Linked DNA regions of Homo sapiens: regions 2, 3, 4, 5, 6 and 7 are each linked to region 1. Evidence: promoter capture Hi-C in 16 types of primary human blood cells and fetal thymus (Javierre and others, 2016). All regions are on one chromosome and are shown on one strand. The core of a region is centred on a gene start or on the middle of the fragment in contact, and the rest is flanking DNA. Distances in the headings are between cores, read along the strand shown.

Evidence for each region. Contacts are between HindIII fragments. The CHiCAGO score rates a contact against its expected background, and 5 or more counts as called.
Region 2: a fragment that was not itself captured here is called in contact with the fragment with the promoter of PHIP in region 1 in 1 of 17 cell types (fetal thymus); the score reaches 5.1 in fetal thymus.
Region 3: a contact is called between a fragment that was not itself captured here and the fragment with the promoter of PHIP in region 1, in 3 of 17 cell types (M0 macrophages, monocytes and naive CD8 T cells). The highest score is 7.6, in M0 macrophages.
Region 4: a contact is called between a fragment that was not itself captured here and the fragment with the promoter of PHIP in region 1, in 1 of 17 cell types (M1 macrophages). The highest score is 5.4, in M1 macrophages.
Region 5: a fragment that was not itself captured here is called in contact with the fragment with the promoter of PHIP in region 1 in 3 of 17 cell types (naive CD8 T cells, megakaryocytes and total CD4 T cells); the score reaches 7.0 in naive CD8 T cells.
Region 6: a fragment that was not itself captured here is called in contact with the fragment with the promoter of PHIP in region 1 in 1 of 17 cell types (total CD8 T cells); the score reaches 5.6 in total CD8 T cells.
Region 7: a contact is called between a fragment that was not itself captured here and the fragment with the promoter of PHIP in region 1, in 1 of 17 cell types (naive CD8 T cells). The highest score is 5.2, in naive CD8 T cells.

The regions. Positions count from the first base shown.
Region 1 is chr6:79,076,711-79,079,719 of GRCh38, forward strand. PHIP (PHIP subunit of CUL4-Ring ligase complex) reads right to left here and starts at 1,544. Exons shown (of 40, transcript NM_017934.7): 1 at 1,319-1,544; 2 at 1,145-1,203; 3 at 990-1,019; 4 at 738-797. The coding sequence starts at 1,358. LOC124901346 (a long non-coding RNA gene) reads left to right here. Exons shown (of 2, transcript XR_007059652.1): 2 at 1-556. RefSeq lists silencers at 263-762, 1,262-1,431, 1,562-1,801 and an enhancer at 1,922-1,971. The HindIII fragment of the contact is 4,735 bases long and covers 1-2,469 here.
Region 2 is chr6:80,026,697-80,029,705 of GRCh38, forward strand. It overlaps TTK (TTK protein kinase), which reads left to right. Exons shown (of 22, transcript NM_003318.5): 13 at 1,189-1,315. Among named protein-coding and RNA genes, the nearest start is that of TTK, 24 kb to the left of the region's middle. The HindIII fragment of the contact is 179 bases long and covers 1,324-1,502 here.
Region 3 is chr6:79,868,223-79,871,231 of GRCh38, forward strand. It overlaps LOC107986614 (a long non-coding RNA gene), which reads right to left. Exons shown (of 3, transcript XR_001744216.3): 1 at 2,042-3,009; 2 at 71-268. Among named protein-coding and RNA genes, the nearest start is that of LINC01621, 57 kb to the left of the region's middle. RefSeq lists a silencer at 1,476-1,653 and an enhancer at 1,642-1,751. The HindIII fragment of the contact is 7,794 bases long and covers 1-3,009 here.
Region 4 is chr6:79,808,770-79,811,778 of GRCh38, forward strand. It overlaps LINC01621 (long intergenic non-protein coding RNA 1621), which reads right to left. Exons shown (of 5, transcript NR_131786.1): 2 at 2,758-2,781. Among named protein-coding and RNA genes, the nearest start is that of LINC01621, 2.0 kb to the right of the region's middle. The HindIII fragment of the contact is 1,008 bases long and covers 1,124-2,131 here.
Region 5 is chr6:79,714,676-79,717,684 of GRCh38, forward strand. No RefSeq gene overlaps it. Among named protein-coding and RNA genes, the nearest start is that of SH3BGRL2, 85 kb to the left of the region's middle. The HindIII fragment of the contact is 6,207 bases long and covers 1-3,009 here.
Region 6 is chr6:79,698,245-79,701,253 of GRCh38, forward strand. It overlaps SH3BGRL2 (SH3 domain binding glutamate rich protein like 2), which reads left to right. Exons shown (of 4, transcript NM_031469.4): 4 at 1,254-3,009. The coding sequence ends at 1,265. Among named protein-coding and RNA genes, the nearest start is that of SH3BGRL2, 68 kb to the left of the region's middle. The HindIII fragment of the contact is 5,171 bases long and covers 1-3,009 here.
Region 7 is chr6:79,662,900-79,665,908 of GRCh38, forward strand. All of the region lies in intron 1 of SH3BGRL2 (SH3 domain binding glutamate rich protein like 2), which reads left to right. Among named protein-coding and RNA genes, the nearest start is that of SH3BGRL2, 33 kb to the left of the region's middle. RefSeq lists an enhancer at 450-1,062. The HindIII fragment of the contact is 2,694 bases long and covers 49-2,742 here.

The sequences.
Region 1 (3,009 bases), core at 294-2,793:
AATAATAATTTTTAATTAAACGAGAGGCATACCATAAGAATTAAAAAAAGCCTACTAAACTTCTGGTTTTAGGGAATTACAGGCTTTACACTTCTGCAAAGATGTGTTTTAGTAAATGCAAGACGAAGCACTGACCAACTATCATCACACATCAGAATCCTTCCAACAAAAAACCCAGGACTGAATTTAAGGAAAACAAAATAAACGACAGAGGGGGAAAAAATAATGTCTTGCCACGGTACCGCAGCGGCTGGATAGCCTGCTTGTGAAATGCTAATGCCACTTCGGAGCAGTTAGTCACCAGCTATTGTGTAGGGCAGGAGAAAGCCGAGCCGGCCGCGCGTGCAGAGCGAGCAAGCGAACGAGCGAGCGCGCTCTCCCTCTTCGCGCCGCTCCCGCCGCCGCCGACTCTCGCGCGCCCCCGCGCCCGCACGGACGCGCGCGCCGGCCCCTCCTCCTCCGGCCTTGCACTGCACAACACTCATGACGTATCTTTATTTCTAGCACATTAACAAAATATCACAAATAAATTGTCCGCAGCCCCTGCGGCCCCGAAGTACGAGTACCCCCGGCCACTGGCCCCCGCAGACCCCGCGCCGGCCTCCCAACCCTCCCCATGGCCTTTGGAGCTTTCACGTTCTAGGGCCAAGTTTTTGTCTCTGTAAAAAATTGCGGGAAATTCAATTTTTATTCGACTCAGGGAAAAGTTTCTTTGCTCTGCGACGTGAATGTCTCACCAGATTCTGGTAGGTCCTGGGATGCTCCTTCCCGGTCCAGTCGGTGCGCCGGGGCAGCAGCTGCGGGGAGAGGACACCCCGTGAGCCCGGCCCCCGGCCCCTACCCGCCCGCTCCCCTCCCCCGCCCGCCCCGCGCCCCGGCGGGGACCCCGAGCCCCGCGCCCCGCGCCCTGCCGGCGGCGGCAGCGGCGGCGCAGCGGCCCAGAGGCGGCCGCGCGGCGGCGGGACGCGCCGGGCCGCCGCCGCCCTTACCTCCTTCTCGGCCACCTCGCGGATCAGCACCTGCAACAACAAAGCGGGGAGAGCTGAGCCCCGCGCCCCGGGCCGCGGCCCCGCCGCCGCCGCCTCCCTCCCCCACGCCCGCGAGCGGCGAGCGCCGGCCCGGCCCGCGCCGCGCGCCGCCGTACCTGAGCCGCCTGCTGACAGGGTCCATCTTCCAGGAACCGGGCGATGAGGAAGTAGAGCTCTGCGCGGGAGAGAGGGACGGGGAGACACACAGGCTGAGCGGTCGGGCGGCGGGGGGCGGGGGACCGCGGGCGGAATCGCCCGGTGCCAGCGGCCCCGGCAGCCCCCCGACTTACCCGATCGCAGCTCCGAGAGGCCTTTCCTCTCACAAGACATGTTTATGGGTCACTTCAGGGCCGCCGACGGGACACCCCGCCGCCGAGGGGAAGCGGGGACGGTGCCGCCGCCTGCCCTATAGCTGTCAGTGTGTGTTCACGAGCCGAGCTTCGGCTCCACCATTCAAGCAACGGCGGCGGAGGCGGAGGAGGAGGAGGAGGAAACAACAACTCTCAGGCAGCGACTACGGCCGTGGCCGCCTCCGCCGCGGATCCCTCCGCCGCAGAAAGGAGTCCGCCGCCTTCGCGGCCCAGGGCTCGGCCCCGGCTCTGGCCCGCGCCCCCGCCCCCCGGCGCTAAAAAAGGAGTGCCTCCGACCCCTCGTCCCCAGCGCTCCGCACGCGGCACAGTGAGACCCCCACCCGCTCCTCCCCGCAGGGCGTGCGATTTATTTATTTATTTCCAGTCGGAGAAGATGTCGGAGCCCAAGCCGCCGGTTGGCTGGAAGGCGCTTTCTCTGTGGAGGCCGATAGTGGCAGGGAGGGGGCCGGGGACGGTTCCGCGGAGGGATCTGACGCACACGGAGCCGCAGCACAGGCTCTATTCAGCGGCGCTGGCTGGAGCTGAGATGGAAGTTAGTTTCTATGTAGCAGAAATATGAAACAAATGAAGCAAAACTGCCCAGAGAGGGGAAATGCCCCAAGGATGGGTCTCACTCACGCGCGTACACAGACACACACGCAGAGAGCACTCTCACGCTGGGCAAGCTCGGGATCGCGCTACCCTTCCCGAGTTGAATGATAGTGTTTGGTTTCTGTCTCTTGCCATGTGCATGTGTATAAATGCTGCGGATTGGCATCTGTGTAAGTCTTGTCCTGCGTTATTTCTGCAGCCTATGCAAGTGTTGTGTAATTTATTGGAGTGCTGTATATTGCAATAGAGGTTTGGGCTGCTTTTTGTTAAGCACTTGCGTTTTGCAAACCCGTTATTTGCTGAAGCCACCTCTGCATATTTCTTTTATTACTGCCATTGCCTTTGGCGTACGTTTTTTAAATGTTTTTTATTGTTAAACGGGCAAAGCGAACTCTTGATTTGTACTTCAGATACTCTTTTTCCTTATTACAAAAAGGCTAGTGATGGCTAATTAGGTATTTGGAATTAAAGAACCTTAAAGCTTTTTTAAGTGTTTACGAGAAGGGAGAATGTAAACCTGAGGGAAAGGAAAGGACGCTAATATTCATGTCTAACTGATCTGGAGGTAATTTAGTGACAGATCGATAACCTGCCTAAGGATATTGAAAGAGTATACTACAGTTTAGCCAAGGTGAATAGTGATTAAATAATTTAAATAATCTGTGTATCTTGCAGTTGACTTCGTCATGCTAATTAATGGCTTCTAATTTGAGATGTAAACCATTCCTGTTTACAGTTAATCACGGGAAGACTTCTTGAAAACTGACGAAAAGGAGAAAAAAAAATCTTTCGTAAATTAGTATGTAATTACCGATTTTATATGCTAAATCATACATCTGTGTTTTGCTGATGAGGATAAGGGCCTTGTTTTTAAAAAAACGAATATGGGTGAAATTAATGGAAACAATAGAAAAAGCCATTTGTTAGAAAACAAGGACACCAAATGATATTTATCTCCAGATGATTTAAGCACTTTCCAAAAAGACTTGAGAGTTCAATATTTTTTAAGGATTGCATTT
Region 2 (3,009 bases), core at 163-2,662, 950 kb after region 1:
AATGCATATTTTTAAGGATTGTTGTGCATGTAGTTTCTGTCATATCGTAATCTGTACCTACAACCTATAAATATTCTAAGGATGTAAAACGTCTTGATAATCATGTATTGCCATACAGATATCTCTCTATTAAGAGAGAGATTTTAAAGGTTAGCATTCTTAGAGCAGATAAAGAGTAGATGAATTTTTTCACATAAGTGGTGTTAATTGGAAAGTGATAGCTTCTGGAAGAGATTGGTTTTTACAGTTCATGTAGTTCTGGAGGTATTCAAAGGTGTAGTATTTGAGTGAATAGGAATGATGGATAAGTGAAGAAGTTCGATGATGAGTGTGCTGATAGGGAACACAAGGGATACTACAAAAGAAAATGAATGACATTTCAGAGAAAGGAAATAAAGGGATGCGATACATTATAACCATCAACCGGTGGCTATATCTTTAATGTCTTAGGGGATAGCTTAAATCCGTGTTGTCTTTTGCGTTTCATTTTCATAATGTAATCCTTGATCTTAATTAGAACTGGTCTTAAAGATTTTATAACCCAGCCTCTTACCTACTTAATATAGTTTTACTATATATTGCCTCATTTTATTATATGTAGAATATTCTAAAGAATGATTGCTAACTAAAATAGCGATAATAGATATTTCTTGTGATACTAGGTTAATTATTGTTAACAAATATTTGTGGAGCTCTTTTGTGCCAAGCATTGTTCTAGGTGTTGAGGATATATTAATAGCAAAAAGGCAAACAAAGCACAAATGTATACTGGACAGATTTAAGCTCAAAGGCCAAACTCCTGTGATGTAATTGGCTTTCTGATATTTCTAGCAAGCCATTATAGAACATTATTGTTTAAAAAAAAACTCAAAATCTATGGCCGGCCACAAGCTGATGTTTGCTAAATTCATATAAAATAACCCTAACCACTTTGTATTTTAAATGCCATCTTTTCAAACAAAGATTTCTTGTCTGCATACAAATATTTACTTTCAGAAAGAATTCCCCAAAATTAAATATCCGGTGGTGGCATATCTGGAATAAGTGTCAGCTATATCATGAAAACTAACTTGGGTTCTGTTTGATGTAACACTTTTAAGTTTATATCAGTCTAAAATACATGAAACTGAATCAGACTTATTTGTTAAATTGTAATGTTTTAAATAAAAATATATATATATTTCCTAGTTTTAGAACTCCAGTTGTAAAGAATGACTTTCCACCTGCTTGTCAGTTGTCAACACCTTATGGCCAACCTGCCTGTTTCCAGCAGCAACAGCATCAAATACTTGCCACTCCACTTCAAAATTTACAGGTTCGATAAGCTTTATATATGATGGTATATGTTAAGATACAGTCCGTTTTACAGCTTTTATTTTTATAGCATCTAGTTATCAAGAAAGGTCTTAAGAACTTGGCCATTCTTATTTCCACTAGACAAAACTTTTCTGATATTCTAATAAGAGTGTGCCTTGTGGCTTTGAGAGGTTGGTTATTGAAGAAGCTTACGAAGCTACTCTTAATAACTAGGCCAAAGGATCCAGTTTGAATAGCTGGATAAAATTTCTCTTATGAATCAAGGTTACCTTTTATTTTTTATTTTTATTTATTTATTTATTTATTTATTTATTTATTTTTTGAGACAGAGTCTCGCTCTATTGCCCAAGCTGGAGTGCAGTGGCGCGATCTCGGGTGACTACAACCTCTGCTTCCCAGGTTCAAGCGATTCTCGTGCCTTAGCCTCCCGAGTAGCTGAGATTACAGGCACGCACCACCACACCTGGCTAATTTTTGTATTTTTACTAGAGACAGGGTTTCACCATGTTGCTCAGGCTGGTCTCAAACTCCTGGCCTCAAACCATCCGCCCGCCTCAGCCCCCCAAAGTTCTGGGGTTACAGGCATGAGCCACTGCGCCTGGCCAGCGTTACTTTTTGTTGTGTTTTGTCAGCTGCTAGTGAGCAGCTTCATTTTGTTTGTTAGTATACAATTCATTTGGAAATGTAAATTTTCAAAAATATCAGAATAGCAATATGAGGTACTGCTAGAATGTATTATACTAATAACTAAACTAAGAGGAAAGATTTTTTGCTGATGAGGCAAAAGTTGGTTTCTAGTAACTGTCCTAGAGGCAGCTTAATACTGGTAGAAAACATGGGCCTTGGAGACACTGGGCATGAATCTTAGCCTCACTACTTACAGTCTGTGTGATCTTTTGCAAGTTACCTAAATTTTCGGTGCCCATTTCATTATCTATAAAATTAGTAAAGCTAACTACCTCCTAGGATGGTTGTGAAGATTAAATTAGTTAATATAGACGTAACTCCTAATACAGAGCATGACACTTAGTAAATCAGAAATGTTAGTAGCAATTGTTATTTAAATAAAACAATAAAAAACCCATGAGTAATTAACTATAAAAATCAACTGATAAAAAAATTAGCTGACAGAATAAGAACAGTGGTTGTCAGGGAAGGGAGGAAGAATGGGGAGTTACTGTTTAATGGGTATAGAGTTTCAGTGGTATTTGCACCACCATCCATCACCAGAACTTTTTCATCATCACATACTGAATGTACTTAATGCCACTGAATTGTACCTAAAAATGGTTAAAGTGGTAAATTTTGCATTATGTATAATTTGCACAGTTTGAAAGAATAATGGACAAAATAATGAGCTGACAGTAGATACTAACTGGAAAGAGGTGATAGTGTTTTAAGGATTGAAACAATATAATAAATTACAAAGGAAAAACAAAAATGATCCAGTTTGTTCATGCATTGATTCAAAACACATTTATTTAGCTATTACTAGTGTCAGGCCCTGTTTGAGTTGCAATCCAGAAGACGAGTCACAGATGACAAGTGAAGGGGCTTGGTGGAGCCTTCTAGAAGAGGCCAGTGTCAGAAGAGAACTGAAACGAGGCCACAGTGTGGCTAGAGGTCAGGAAGGGGAAGGAGTGAGGCCCAAGGTTTGCTGGGCCCTTAAGTTTTACCCTAAGAGGGTGGGAA
Region 3 (3,009 bases), core at 287-2,786, 790 kb after region 1:
AACGCCGATTCAAAACAGCACAAAGAAACAGCTTAGGCATTTTTCCTTCTAATCAGAAAAAGCAGCTTACCACATTGTGGAGAAATTGTGCCCCCTGCTGATTTAACTTGATATTAGCGTCATTGGTCTTTTGGGTTGTTTTTTTTTTTTAAAGGTCTGCAGTGCCGCAGGGTAGTGCAGTGTCTTCAAGGTCAGTAATTTACATGTCCTCCTCTCGAGGCTAAGGCAGCCTCTCCTTGCAAATAGGAAGTTTTTGCTTGATCGTGACCTTGGGAAAAAGGAAGCAAAGGAGGAATGACTCCTTTTATGAGCTTTCTGGAGATATTTGTTCTAAGAACCTTCTCAGTATTCCCCGTACCTTTGGTGACTCTGAATAAGGAAAGCGAGCAAGCAGTGAAGAGAGAGGAGCTGGTTGCGGGTGAGCACACGCCCCTTGTAATTAATCTCCACTTCAGGACCAAAAGACAGTAGAGCTCCGTTCACTGATGGAGTTTATTCAGTCTGCGAAAACTATTACCACCAATGAATAGCAATCACGATGGGGCATTCCAGGTGCTCAGATGTCATTCTGTTAACTTGGTGTGAGCTACCCTCTGAAAGGCTCCAGCCCTGGACAATATTGTTGTTAACCAGGGATGTAGCATTAGTAACGGCAGACTCTTTCTGTGGCCCTCATTTTTATCTTGATGCTTTGTTCCCTTCTTTTTTATTGCCTCTCCACCTGGGCTTTTAATGTGTTTTTCCTAGGCTGGTACTTATTTCCAACAAGCTGCCAAGTAATCTCTCTGGAAAAGTCAACGGACTTTTTTTTTTTTTTTTTTTCTGTTCTTTACTTGTGTTTTTCTTTTTCTGTGTATTTTTCTTTGTGTGTTTGTGTGTGTGTGTTTGCTTGCATTTTGCTCGTGTTCTTTGCTTTGTTTGTGTTCTTCTGATAATTGCATCTTTAGGAGAAATTCCTGAATGAACACAGAGAGGACTTTAGCAACGCATTCGGCCTTGGAGAAGATAAAGGAGGAAATTTTCTAAGGTGGGGAGGACCTTTCCTCACGTCTGTCCTAGACAAGGCCACAGGCTGCAGGGCTGCGTCTCTGCCAACTGTGACAAGAACAGCCTCTTCCAGTCTACGGGATGCAATACTTTGTCCAATATTCAGTTAACAGGTAGTAAATATTGTCTTTCCCTCCTCTGTACCTTAAAAGGGCTTTCAGTCTTTCCAAGGGCCCTTTGCTCTTTGGTTAGAGTTGCCAGATTTAGTCAATAAAAGTCCAGGGCACCCAGTCTGGATTTTATTTTAATATGAATTTCAGATAACGATTTTTTAAAAAGTATTTGTATTTGTTGTTTATCTGAAATTCAGATTTAACTGGGCTGTCGTACTTTACCTGGCAACCCTATCTTTGATTGAACTCTGTTTTCACGCTGTTTTCCAGGGCATTCGAAATCTAGCTGAGTGACTGCTGAGCCAGGGCGCGAGGTCCTGGGCCTTGGAGCCCAGGTGGCCTGGGCGGTGCGGCTCCTCGCGCTGCTGCCTCAGGCTCTCACCTCCCTCTAGCGGCCGCCAAGGACATCACACACGCCGAGCGGAAGCCCTGCTGGGCGGTGCTGCCGGCTCCAACCCCGGAAAGGCCACGTCCGAGAGAGCTCACCTACTTTCTCCTGGAGGGGCTGCGGTGGGGGCCTGCACAAGAAAGTGGCCTTACTCCCAATAGCGGAAATGGAGTTTCCCTTGTTTCACTTAAAAATACAATGGAAAAAAATGCCTCTGTACAACAGCCTAAGCTGACAGTTGATGTCTAACCCTGGGCTGTACTCACCACTAAACACTGATAGATGTTGTCATTTTCATGCTAAAGAAACCCCACTCACCCCAAATAATTTGTCAAAGAGTACTCATGTAGACAGCAAGTTTTGGAAGGTGGAGATGCTTATCTGTCTTCTGTGATGTGCCTGTGCCTGATAGCTAGTAAATAAGTTTAAATGAATTGACATTGAAATACACTACAGGCTTGGAATTAAAAACAAAGAAGAAACCTATTCCTACCCTCAGAGAATGACCACTTCATCGCAGAGGAGATGATGGCTGAAGTGCTTATGCTCATCAACGACTGTGGAATTGGGTCTTGGAATTTTAGTTCCTCTGTTAAACTTAGGAAATGGATGGCTGGAGGTCTGCGCCAGCCGATGAGGGATTGATACACCTGAGATTGCTTTACAAAACACTGCTTTTAGTGTTTAATGACACAGGATAGTGTCTACAGCAGTGGCATGGAGCCAGAACATGGGTTCTAGAATCCAGAGATGACTCGCAGGTTCCATCTGAGTTCCTTAAAGGACAGTTTCTGCAACGTAGGTGTTCCATGATTGCTTGTTGAATGAATGAATAGGAGTATCTATCACAACCATGTCCACACTCATTGGCTTTAGTGGAGTCAAGGCAAGGTAGAGATATTAATGACAGAATTCTGGTGATAGGGGCCCCTACCACCAATGGCAGTATTAAGGGGTGATTAGGGAGAAGGGTAGCTTTTAGTCTCTTTCAAGCCACGCAAACAAAGATCACAGAATCTAAGCAAAAGCAAATGTCTTGCTTTACAGTTTCAAGACAAAGCCCCTGGAAGTTGCCCCCTTTTAAATAGATTGTCCCTTAGCCTTGCTACGCAAATACACTGGATCCTGTAACCATGTTAGCCCTTATCTGTAATTTCACAAAGTCGGGTGGCAGGTATTTGCTCAGGAAATTGAGACATTAGGTACTCACACTTTTAAAAATAACACATAAGGAAGGCAATAATAATTACATAAGATAATATGTTCCAGGCTCTATATCTTGTTATCTAATTTAATCTTCACTGTAACCCTGTAATGTTATTATTATTGCCCACATTTTTGCAGATGTGGAAATGTCAGCTTAAAGAAGTGAAGTAACTAGGCGAAGGTCATAGAGACAGCCAATATGCAAATGCACATCTGCCTTATTCAACTCTTTCCAACATACAGCGCTGGTACTTG
Region 4 (3,009 bases), core at 378-2,877, 730 kb after region 1:
CTCAATGCCCATGAAGCAGAAACAATACTTGTAGAATTTATCAGAGGAGCTCATTCATCTAGATGATAAAGGTTACTATTTTGGGGAGAGGGGAACAACTTCAGTGGCTCTCTGTGCTCTGTACACAGTCTGCTCTCAAAACTGTTGATTGAAGATGAGGATGAAGATAGTGAAGATGAAGAAAATGATAATCCTCAGAGAGTTCAAAACCCTACCTCTAAATAGCTGTCTTTGCTAATAATGCCTTGTTACTAACCAGGGCCATGTGACATGAGATACACGACTGGCCTCCAGCTGAGGAAGGTGAGAGAATAGAGAGGAGAGGGGACGCTGCCATGTCAGGGAGCTCTTGGGTGGAAGGCAGACAGCCTCAGAGACAGATTTCACCTAATGTAAATGTTTCCCAGAATGGTTGCTATTTTTGTTCTAAGTAGTTTGCTTATGCCAAAAGTGCATATTTCCCCAACAATCCTCAGGAAATAAGACACAGAAGTCTGTCTTTAATTTTCATGATATCCTGCAATTTAAATCAGTCTGGGTGCATCTGTGTGGTTTTTATTTTTTGGTATTGTTTAGATGTAATTAAGCAAATCAATACACAGGTACTTAATTATATATTAACAGGGCCATTTGTTAACAAACTTAGTTATAGGATGGAATTAAACTGTAGTAAAGATTTAAAAACCTGCAATAAATTCAATTAATATCAGGTCATTACTCAGAATCTGAATTTATAGATATATTACCATCTTGACAGGAATTTATATTGATTGGATATTTTGAATATTAATAAAATATAAAATTTAGTATTAATAAGTGGGACTATGGTACAATTTTAAAAAGAAAAAAACAAAATTGTGGTTTTTCTAGTTCTTTTAGAGTTGAAGGGGTTAATATGTTTCTCTGAGTCTCACATATTTGTATTTGCCTCTATGCCTATCAAAATTTTATAAAAGCTACTCTAAGATTGGTTTTCTTAATTTTTGTTTTTCGTCCATTTATTCGTGTTTATTAAGGAAAACGGTAATGGAGCTAAAGGTAGGTGAGTCGGCTGTAATTAAGGAAGCTACGGTAATTAAATTATTGTACGGCCACCCCTCGAGCTGTCATTTGAAAGGATGAAAGCTTAATTTTTCCATCAACAAAGTCAATTTCATCCAAGCTGTTGTTTAGAATGCCACATGCATTTAAAAATTACATGTTTAAACTAATCAGGAGCAAATGGAATTTAAACCCCTCTTCAAAATAACATGGATAGATTGTAAATTTATGGAGCATTTTCACTATAGAAAATTAAGTCCATTCAAAACATATCCAGGAGTCATCAGGCAAACAGGGCAGTACTGATGTAAACTACCCACTGTGTGAGCTTAAGGCAGAAGGGTCTCTAATAAATTCGAGTAAATAGCAGCTGAACTGGCCTCACCATGGCTTATGTGTTCAACCTAGCAAGGAAAAAGTTAGCATTAATTGGTACACTCTAGGCTCTCTCAAAGGAACAGGCACTTAGAGCAATTAAGTCAGATGCAGAAAAACAGCTCTGCATTGAAAAGCTGACAGCAGGACTCCTGCACAATATACGTAATGAGTGGCTGAGGACTTTAATGGATCGAGGCTTGGAGACTAATGGACAATTAATGTAAAACAGATGACTTCCCTTGGAGATGACAGTCTTTTGAAAGGCGCTTCACCTGCTGCTCGAACAAATGCGGCTAAAGTGAAATGAAAACAGGAACGTGGTCTCATTGAACGAGGCTAGAGCTAGTATTTGTGTCCCTGCTTTCTCCTTGAATAGTTTCAAAAACTAGGTCAGGAATTTAACAATTCCCTGCAGCTGGTGGTGCAAGCCCCCTCTCGTGGCCTCCCGCCATCCAGGGTGGCCTGAGATCACTGACTGTGCCTCTTGAGCCTTTTGAGAAGCTGCCCTAGCTCGCCTTGTTTAACAGGCAAAAAGAAGACAGGACATATTATAGTGTTCCAGCCTCACTTTTAAAATGACAACAAACCACCCCAACATAGAAATTGCAGTAAATACATATTGGAACATCTATTGGAAATTTAAGAACATGGTTTCTTCTCAAATTAGGCTATTTTAATTTTAAATTAAGATAACTGGAGTCCTTCAAATTTAAGCTTTATAAGCACAGACAGGCTCCCTCCTTATGATAAGTGGTTGTGTACCGAAAGCAAATAATTGTTTGCAAAGAGAAACTCATTTCCTATAGAAACAATGCTGCGGTGGCATTTAATTTTCCACGTGATCTTCCTGAAATCTGTTTAACCCAGATGGAAGCTTAACACAAGTCAGCCTGAGCCCTGGGTCCTGGAACAGGGAGGAGTCAGCTACTCCTGTGGGAGAGGGGAAAGAAGAGGGAGACAAAGATGTTTCCCCCTCTTAGTGGGAAATGGGATTGGACTGAGCTATAATTTTGAGTTACAAACTAATCCTTGGCAATTTTCTATCTTCTAACATCCCTTTACTCAACACTCAAGAAATCAGTGCCTTATGTCATTTAAGTCGCTAGGCATTTCACCCCTGCCCCCAAGCCCCCAACTCCTCTCCTCACTACAGATGTACATATCTTAGCAATTCCCTATTTGTTCTCCTGTAATTTTTCTTCCATTTTCTCATAACAGTACATCTCATCTAGAAATTGAGGAAAGCAGCTTGTATGGGCTAATGAACACCTTTGGTTGATGGCCTGAGCACTCCCAGAAGCCTCTGCATATTAAAGAAAGAATTGCTTCTAAACTCACATGCATGTCCCATTGACAGAATTTCTGTAAGAAAAAAAAAAATCAAGTCAAAATTTCAGGTATCTAATTCAAAAAAACCCACAAGTGCAGGAGAAACGTATTAGGATATTTGTTATAGCAATGAAAAGTAGAAACCACGTAGAAGTCAATGAGAAAATGCCTTAAGTGTGATATATTCATATGATGTCAGATTATGCAGGAGTTATGTGGGTACATTAGAAAATTAGCAAACGTCACCCTTTTCTCTCAGCC
Region 5 (3,009 bases), core at 337-2,836, 640 kb after region 1:
GAAGTCTAAAATGAATCTCACAGACTAAAATCAAAGTGTCTGTAGGGATGCTTTCCTTTCTGTTGACTCCAGGAGAAAATCCGTTTCCTTGCCTTTTCTAGCTTCTAGAGACCGCCTATAAGCCTTGGCTCAAGGCTGCATCACTCTGACTCTGACACTCCTACCTGCATCTTAAAGGGACCCCTGTGATTACACTGGGCCCACCCACGTAATAATCTAGAATAAACACCCCATCTCAAGATCCTTAATTCCATCTGCAAAGTCACTTTTGCATATGTAAGGCGATGCATTCACAAGTGCCAGAAATTGGGACGTGATCTCTCTGGGGGTGGGCTTGAGGGAAGGAGGGCAAAGGCATTATATCCCACTTACCACAAGCATTATATAAGCCTACACGTAACCAGGCACAGGAGATATAAAGTCTCTGCCTCTGATGGGATGGGATTGGGGTCATGCAAATAAATCAGATTTTCCGGCAGTGCAAAAGACTACAGATAACTCAGGAAGAGGCTAGCTCAGCTGAGGCAATCAGTTCACATACCTCAAGCAAGTGATATTTGACTTAAGTCTGACAAATCAGGAAGAGTTAGACAGATGGGTGGAAAGGGAGTTTTAAGCAGAGCAAAGAGCATATGCTAAAGTATAGAAATGTATAAAACAGCTCAGCAGTTTCCATGATTAACAAGATATTGGATTGTGTTGCTGAAAGTGGCAGAAGATGAAACTGTACCTAATGGCTCAACTGTGTTAAGAAAGATTGTTCTTCCTCTGATAATATCTGTTCTGGGCTCAAAAAAGAGGAGGTTGATCTTCTCTTACATAAACATTGCTTCCCAGTGTTCATGGTGTTGGAAATTATGTTCAAACCTGGTCAAACAGCCAAATGTATTTTAATCTACCTTTTTATTAGCCACTTCTAATGATAAAAGAAAAAGGAGCTACAAAGCTAGAATGAAGATAAGCAGTTGATGATCCAATGAAATTATTAAAAGACAGTTTCTAGAGAAAGATGTATAATATATTTTTCATAAGGCTCTTAATATAGTTCTGTTCTCTCACCACTGGCCTCATGAAAATTTTAGTGAGATTTTTATTAAGAAAAAAAGATCACCATGATAAAGACCCAAAGGTGAATTGTTAAGAAATGTGAAACAAATGTGATATTATTGAACCATTTCATACTAACAGCTTGTAAAACATCTATTTCTCTGTTATTAGGGAAATTTTATTTGATTTTTATCTTTTTAATATGGACAAATCTACAGCTGGTGCCTATTTTCCTGAATGACAAAAGATATAAGAAATGTGGCTAGGAAATTGTGAAGGTCAATTAATTCAGTCTCCTGACCTACTCAGACCCCTTGCCTGCAACGTTGGTGAGAGGCGTTTCATAAGTAAAGCACAAAGTTTAATAAATATCTGAAAGCTCATTTTGTGCCAGGCATTGTGCTGGACCTGCAGGAAACAAAGAGAGTAAGATAGAGTTTGCCCTCAAGGAACCACAGAGTGGCTGCAGGGTAAGGGTGGGGAACATATATGTGTAAGCAGCTCCATTATTGTCTATGTCAGATGATATAATTGAAAAGTGTCCAGGATGAAAGTGCTACTAAAACAGTGAAAGGACACTTACCTAATTCTATCTTGGAGAGTCTGCCGGAAAGGTCTTGTTAGAGGAGGTCATTCTTAAGATCAATCATGGATGAATGAATGAATGATCAACCAACTAATTAATCAGTAGAAGGAAGTTTCCTGGGGAAGAAGGCTGGGAGGAGACAGCATTGGTCAGAGGCAATAGCATATGCAAGGGATCGAGGTGGAATAAAGGTTACACATGATAGAGGTATCACAGATGTATTCTGGGCAATGGACTAGATTGTAATGAGCCTGGTATGCTATACTATAAGATTTGAAAATTAACCTATAAACCCCCACTACTCAAAGTGTGGTCCGAGGACCAGCAGCATCACATGAACCTTGCTAGACTCCACTCCAGGCTAGAAGCACATTTTAACAAGATCCCCAGGTGATTCAGGGTCACATTAATGTGTGAGAAGCACTCCTGTAGATATTGAAAAGCATTGATGGATTTAAAGTAAGAATGTGAAGCAATCACATTTGTGTTTTCAGGAAATCACAGAGTTTGGCAGTGAGAAGAGAAGATGAGGTATGGGAGAAGGTGATGTGGGGAAGAATAAAGGCTCAGAGACCATTTAGAAAGTTAATTTATGGATGATAAGAGTTTGAACTAGGGTCATGGCCATGGAGATGTCTTATTAACTCTTGGGGAAATGGAGAGTAAAGGACTCAAATGTTCTAGCTTGGTTGACAGATGCAATTACCCAAAACAGGGAGCTTAATGAAGCTCCTTTTGGACATCCTGAGATTGTTTGAAGCACAGGTGAAACAGTCAGGTGGATAATTTCACCACTGAACAGCACCGTGACTGTGACAATTCAGGAAGCTCTGAAGAACAGAAAAGGAAGTAAAATCTGAAGAAGTAGGAAAACCAGTAGAAAGCATTGTATGGAAAGCCAAGGGGAAGAAAGTCTCAGAGAAAGGTCAGGTCAAATGAACACTAGAGCATATTCTTTAGATTTGACATTCTGGGAGTTTGGGGAGAATTCCTTAATTATTAATGTACCAAAAATTCAGAAATAATTACTGAAATTGAGCAATAGTGAATAGAAATAGAATAGGGCCAGTGGTAGCCAGAGAAATTTACTAAAAGCAATGTAAGTTGGGACACGTATAATTCTAGTAGCAGGTGTTATTTTTAAGGACTCTCATGGAAGCAGTTTAGCCACTTAAACATGAGGATGCTTTGGCAGAAATCTTATAAAAGCCCACTGAAACATGGGGAGCCCAGCAATAAGGTAAAAACTGAGAAAATGGAGATCAGAGATGCTTAAGGCTCTATAAAGATTTTCACAGAAGGAAAACGGATGAAAGAAAGGAGTGAATCTTCTTTTTAAACTGGTCATTTAGAACGACATAAGTTTTGTGCTGTCT
Region 6 (3,009 bases), core at 216-2,715, 620 kb after region 1:
AAGCTAATAGTAACTCATACTTCATCGTCGTATGAGAGAAGTGAAAATGTCTTCAAGAACAATTTAGCATTTTCTCTCTTCTAATCTTCTATTTTTTACCTTGGTAGTGATTCATCATACAGTCTATAGTCTAAGGCTTTGACAGAGTGTTCACAGGTTTAATGTACTAAAAGATGAAAGCCCTGTTTTCTCTTTTCCTTTCCTACTCCCTGTGTAGTATACACACATAAAAAACATGGCAACAAAGCCTATCAGGAAACATAAAGACATCATTAGCACCTATAATTGCTCTTACTTGGTAGGAGAGGACATTCATGGGCCCAACAGGCCCAGGTGCAGTGTAGGCTCTGACTGGGCTGCCCTCCATAGTGGGAGGGGCAAAGGTAGGTTAGAGGTCTCTAGATGGTGGCCTGCAGGCCACATTGGCCCTGGATATGTTGTTTGTCCTGTGAAGAGGTTTTTTAAAGTATGTAAATATTAGATGGTATGGAATCCCTGGTGGGGGTGGTGGGGGGATCTCAGTTTCCCTTGTAGTTGGCTGGAGCCCACAGTGGCTGGCCCATTGTGATAGCCAACTAATTCTGAGAAAGGGAGGCCATTTCACCGATACTTTTTAGGTAGAAAACCATCAAAGTTAAAATTTAGTAGACCCCAAGAAGGGCCTGTCATAGAAGATTGTACTTTCAGATCCCTAGCTTTCAGGGGTAATATCCAAAGTAGGTAACAACCGGTCAACACTGGGTGCTGACTGGCCAGAGCTTGAGCAGGCCACAGAGGCCCCCTGTGCCAGATGTCAGCTCTTTATCCATTGGCTCAAGGGGGAGGGTGCGCAGGGGTGGCAGTTGGGGGACTGGGGCAGCGACTCTTTACTAACAGATATGGTCGTTCTAGAGTGGTTCTTCATCTTGGGTTGCTATTAATGGGCATCTCTGCAGGCCCTCTGAGCAAGGTAACCCCCCACCCAGCCATACACAAGTGGAACAGTACCTCTGAGAGGAATCTCAGTAGGTCATTGAAAACATGCGGCTTTCTTTCCACTTTTATATTTGGCAGGTCGGGTGGGTGTGATTTAAATCTGGGCTCTGATGCTGAAACCCAGGATTTTCTCTTATCAATCACATGGAGGTGATCTGTTATGATTTCCAACATCTCTGTTCCTGACATTTAAAAAACCCCTGCCAAGGGTGAATTTTCTTGTCGATGTAATGCAATAACTGACTTTTTTTTTTTTTTTTTTTTTTTTTTTTTTATAGGCAGAACCTTAGAGAAGAAGAGTGGAAGATGACGGAGATGCATTTTGAAGCACCCCTGGTACTCAGCACACACATGCTTACCTAATGCATCACTGTGACAAAAGCCACACGCATTATCAGTAACTTTGCTTGCCACGGAAAAGGTGTTTTTGAAAGATGTGGCTATAATGAGAATTGCATGATTGCTTTAAACCAAATCAGGTGGTGGATTTTTTTTTTCTTATTCTATTTGCCTGCAGTTGCCTCACTCACCTGGAAATACCGTCACCTGTTACAGGTGTACTTTCTTAATGACTGAAAGATAAGTGGGTAGCACCGTCAGAGAGAAAATGTTGGATCTGCCCTAGGTTATAGTAGATGCCGGAATTGCGTAAACCCACTTCTCTTTAAGCTGCCTGGATTGCACCTTTGAAATATGTCTGCCAAGTTGTTAGAATCTTTGAATCAGAAGGAAAAAAAGCAGCGCTGGTTGACAAAGGGTGTTGAAGATTTTTGCTGCAGAATCAGTTACAAACATCACAGTTCCCATGCTTTGTAATAACACCTGGTGAAAAAGTTAGATATTCTAGACTTGTTTTAGTAATGGAAACTCTTACCTCCACATATTATCCTACAGATGTTTCCAGAAATCCCTGTTGTAACATCAAGTGATCAGAACTAAGTTACTGGGATGACAATAATTGCTATTTGAAATATATGCTTCTTTATTTCTTGCAAGGGGCAAGTTTCACCCAAATGCCTGAGACTGCTTGAAAGATATATTTTAAGTGGTGCACTAATTAGTGAATATATAGGAAAATTATCTGACGAGTATCTGAAGGCATTTTCAGCTCTAGCAATTTATTTATAATATATAAGTTCATATATTTTTTAATCCAGCTCCCCTAACAGACAGCTGCTGCTTCTATTTTGTGAAGGGACTATATTTTTTGAGAAAGGAAAATCTCAGTTAGATATATTTTGTGAACCCTTGATTAGACATATTAAAATATACCAATGTTGTAGTAAAATTTAATTTTTCCTTTTGTTACTTTTCATTTGCCTCTAATTTTGCTTGCTCATATTTCTGGCCAATGTACAGCCTCATATTTTTCAGAGTAATACAGATACTTGTTCTCATTCCGTATATGAGCACAAGTAAGGTTTCAGAGCAACACACATGAGAAAGAGAGTAACCCGGAATTGTACTTGTCAAGCAAAATCTATACTCCTATTGGAGTGGATGCTGATGAACATCGAACATATCTACTTCATTAGAGCAGAGGCTATTTTTCTGCATTCTTGTCCCTATAACAGGGATGCTTAATTTTTTTTTTAACTTAGAGTTTTAAATTGCCAAACATGGGAACAGCCTTGAATAGGATAAATTTTCAGAGGGCTGCCTAAAATATTTTATTTCTAGCATCCTGATTCTGGACTTTTCATTATAATTCTGAGCAGGAAATTTATAAGAAATTGAAAGAGCAGAAGAATTACAGCCCTGTCACATGTGCCCAGCACTCCGCCCCATGCCTTGCTAAATGTAGACTAAAGAACTTGTTGAATGCTAAGGCTGAAATCCCAACCTGAGATTTGTAGTCCAGGATTACAACCAGAAGGAAAGTATGACAGATTTCTACTTAACTAGAATGGACACATGATCCACAATTTTCTCTTCAAGGGAAGCTGTTGTCAAATTATGGATATTACTGGTTAGTTGTCATTAAGTAAGATCCAGGTCAAATTCCATTTGACAAATCCCAGGGACTATCCAGGA
Region 7 (3,009 bases), core at 146-2,645, 590 kb after region 1:
CTTCAATCACTGATATCCTTTCTTCCACTTGATCAAATCGGCTGTTGAAGCTTATGCATGTGCTACGAAGTTCTCGTGCCATGGTTTTCAGCTCCAGCAGGTCATTTAAGGTCTTCTCTACACTGCTTATTCTAGTTAGCCATTTGTCTAACCTTTTTTCAAGGTTTTTAGCTTCCTTGCGAAGGGTTAGAAGATGCTTCTTCAGCTCAGAGAAGTTTGTTATTACCGACATTCTGAAGCCTACTTCTGTCTACTCGTCAAAGTCATTCTTTGTCCAGCTTTGTTCCATTGCTGGCGAGGGACTGCCATCCTTTGGAGAAGAGGTGCTCTGGTTTTTAGAATTTTCAGCTTTTCTGCTCTGGTTTCTCCCCATCTTTGTGGTTCTATCTACCTTTGGTCTTTGATGTTGGTGACCTACAAATGGTGTTTTTGTGTGGATGTCCTTTTTGTTGATGTTGATGTTACTTCTTTCTGTTTGTTGGTTTTCCTTCTGACAGTCAGTTTCCTCAGCTGCAGGTCTGTTGGAGTTTGCTGGAGGTCCACTCCAGACCTGTTTGCCTGGGTATCACCAGCAGAGGCTGCAGAACAGCAAATATTGCAGAACAGCAAATGTTACTCCCTGATCCTTCCTCTGGAAGCGTCGTCCCAGAGGGGCACCCGCCTGTATGAGGTGTCAGTCGGCCCCTACTGGGAGGTGTCTCCCAGTTAGGCTACACAGGGATCAGGGACCCACTTGAGGAGGCAGTCTGTCCGTTCTCAGAGCTCAAACATCGTGCTTAGAGAACCACTGCTCTCTTCAGAGCTGTCAGACAGGGACGTTTAAGTCTGCAGAAGTTTCTGCTGCCTTTTGTTCAGCTATGCCCTGCTCACAGAGGTGGAGTCTATAGAGGCTGTAGGCCCTGCTGAGCTGTGGTGGGCTCCACCCAGTTTGAGCTTCCTGGTGGCTTTGTTTACCTACTCAAGCCTCCCCAGTGGCGGCCGCCCCTCCCCCAGCCAGGCTGCTGCCTCGCAGGTTGATGTCAGACTGCTGGGCTAGCAGGGAGCAAGACTACCAGGGCGTGGGGCCTGCCAAGCCAGGCATGGGAGAGAATCTCCTAGTCTGTCAGTTGCTAAGACCTAGGAAGAGCACAGTATTTGAGTGGGAGTGTCCTGTTTTTCCAGGTACAGTCTGTCATGTCTTCCCTTGGATAGGAAAGGGAAATCCCCCAACCCCTGTCCTTCCCAGGTGAGGTGACGTCCCACCCTGCTTCAGCTCGCCCTCCGTGGGCTGCACCCACTGTCCAACCAGTCCGAATGAGATGAACCAGGTACCTCAGTTGGAAATGCAGAAATCACCTGTCTTCTGCATCGATCACGCTGGGATCTGCAGACTGGAGCTGTTCCTATTCACCCACCTTGGAACGGACTTGTGATTGGATTTAATGTTTAGCTCTTTTTGCATGCCAGGCACTGCACTAAGAACTTTATGAACATTATGACATTTAAATTTCACTGCAGTTCTCTATGCTGAATTATTATCTGTGTTTTACAGATGAGGAAACCAAGGCTTTGGTAGAATAAGTATCTTGGCCAAGGTGACACAGACCCAACCCTTTTTGACTGTTCAGGACTAGAACATTAATAAAGCCAACTGGCCCAATTGAGGTTCAGGCTGCTGCCTTTGGTGTCACTGTCACTGTGTTCAGTCCAGCAAAGCCACATGTTCACAGACCAACCAGTGTCCCACACAGACCTCAGTGTCCCACTTGCAGCAGCCAGAACTACTTCCCATTCATCAGTCATATAAAGGTTTTTGTTAACAGTTTGATAGTTGAAATCATGTTATGTTCCATGATGTCAATTAGCTATTCCAGGAAACCAATGGAAAGACGGAAAGATGTTACATTAAAACAATTCACTGAAATATTTCATTTGAAAGACTTTAGGAGACAAGATTTAGAAAAATCTGTGTAAAGTCCCTGTGTTTTAGTACTGCTAGGTAGCCTACTACTAATAACCATTTGTTATCATTGAAAAAGTTGCCCAGGCATGGTGGCTCACGTCTGTAATCCCAGCACTTTGGGAGGCTGAGGAGGGCAGATCATGAGGTCAGGAGTTTGAGACCAGCCTGACCAACATGGTGAAACCTCGTCTCTACTAAAAATACGAAAATTAGCAAGGCGTCGTGGCGGGCGCCTGTAGTCCCAGCTACTCAGGAGGTTGAGACAGGAAAATCGCTTGAACCCAGGAGGAGGAGTTTGCAGTGAGCTGAGATCGAGCCACTGCACTCCAGCCTGGGCAACAGAGCGAGACTCCGTCTCTAAATAAATAAAAAAATAAAAATTCAGCAAATTTGAAACACCATCTTTACAACACACCTAAATCTCCAATGTTAGAATAATGTTTAAATACATTAGCATAAGTACTCAATATAATTCATACATGCAATAAGATAGCTATGGAGATTTTAGAAACAAAAAATATTCGTAATACAACAGAAACATCCTTCCCCAAAACATTTGTTATTATGGCAACTATATAAAGTCTACTTCTAAATGTGGGCTCCCTGGAAGGTTCTATGAAAAATAAAAGCCTCAGCGTGATGAGATTATGGGTTTTTTAAAATTAAAAAATTTCAAATGGGAAAGATGATTTACCATATTATAAACATGTAAAAAAGAAACCAATGCAAATTGATCAAGAAAACAGGACCAAAAATATTGACTGGTTAAAAAGAAAACCAAAGTTAAAAGTATGAATTCAAGCTTAATAATATTTATTTGTTTAATACAAATATTTGCCCATGTAGTAAGTGCCAGGGACTGTGCTAGTGATACATAGATGGAAAACCACAGCATTTTCTATCATTAAAATTATATTGTTTCAATTTATAACATGTACTAACAGTTTTTCAAAAATTGACCTTTATTTTATAATCTGTCTTTCTGACAGGGATTCTGTAAAACTCAAGCTTCAGTCTTTTGTAAGTCAGCCTCTTTATCCTTGGCTTGGTAATCTGGTATTTGCTTT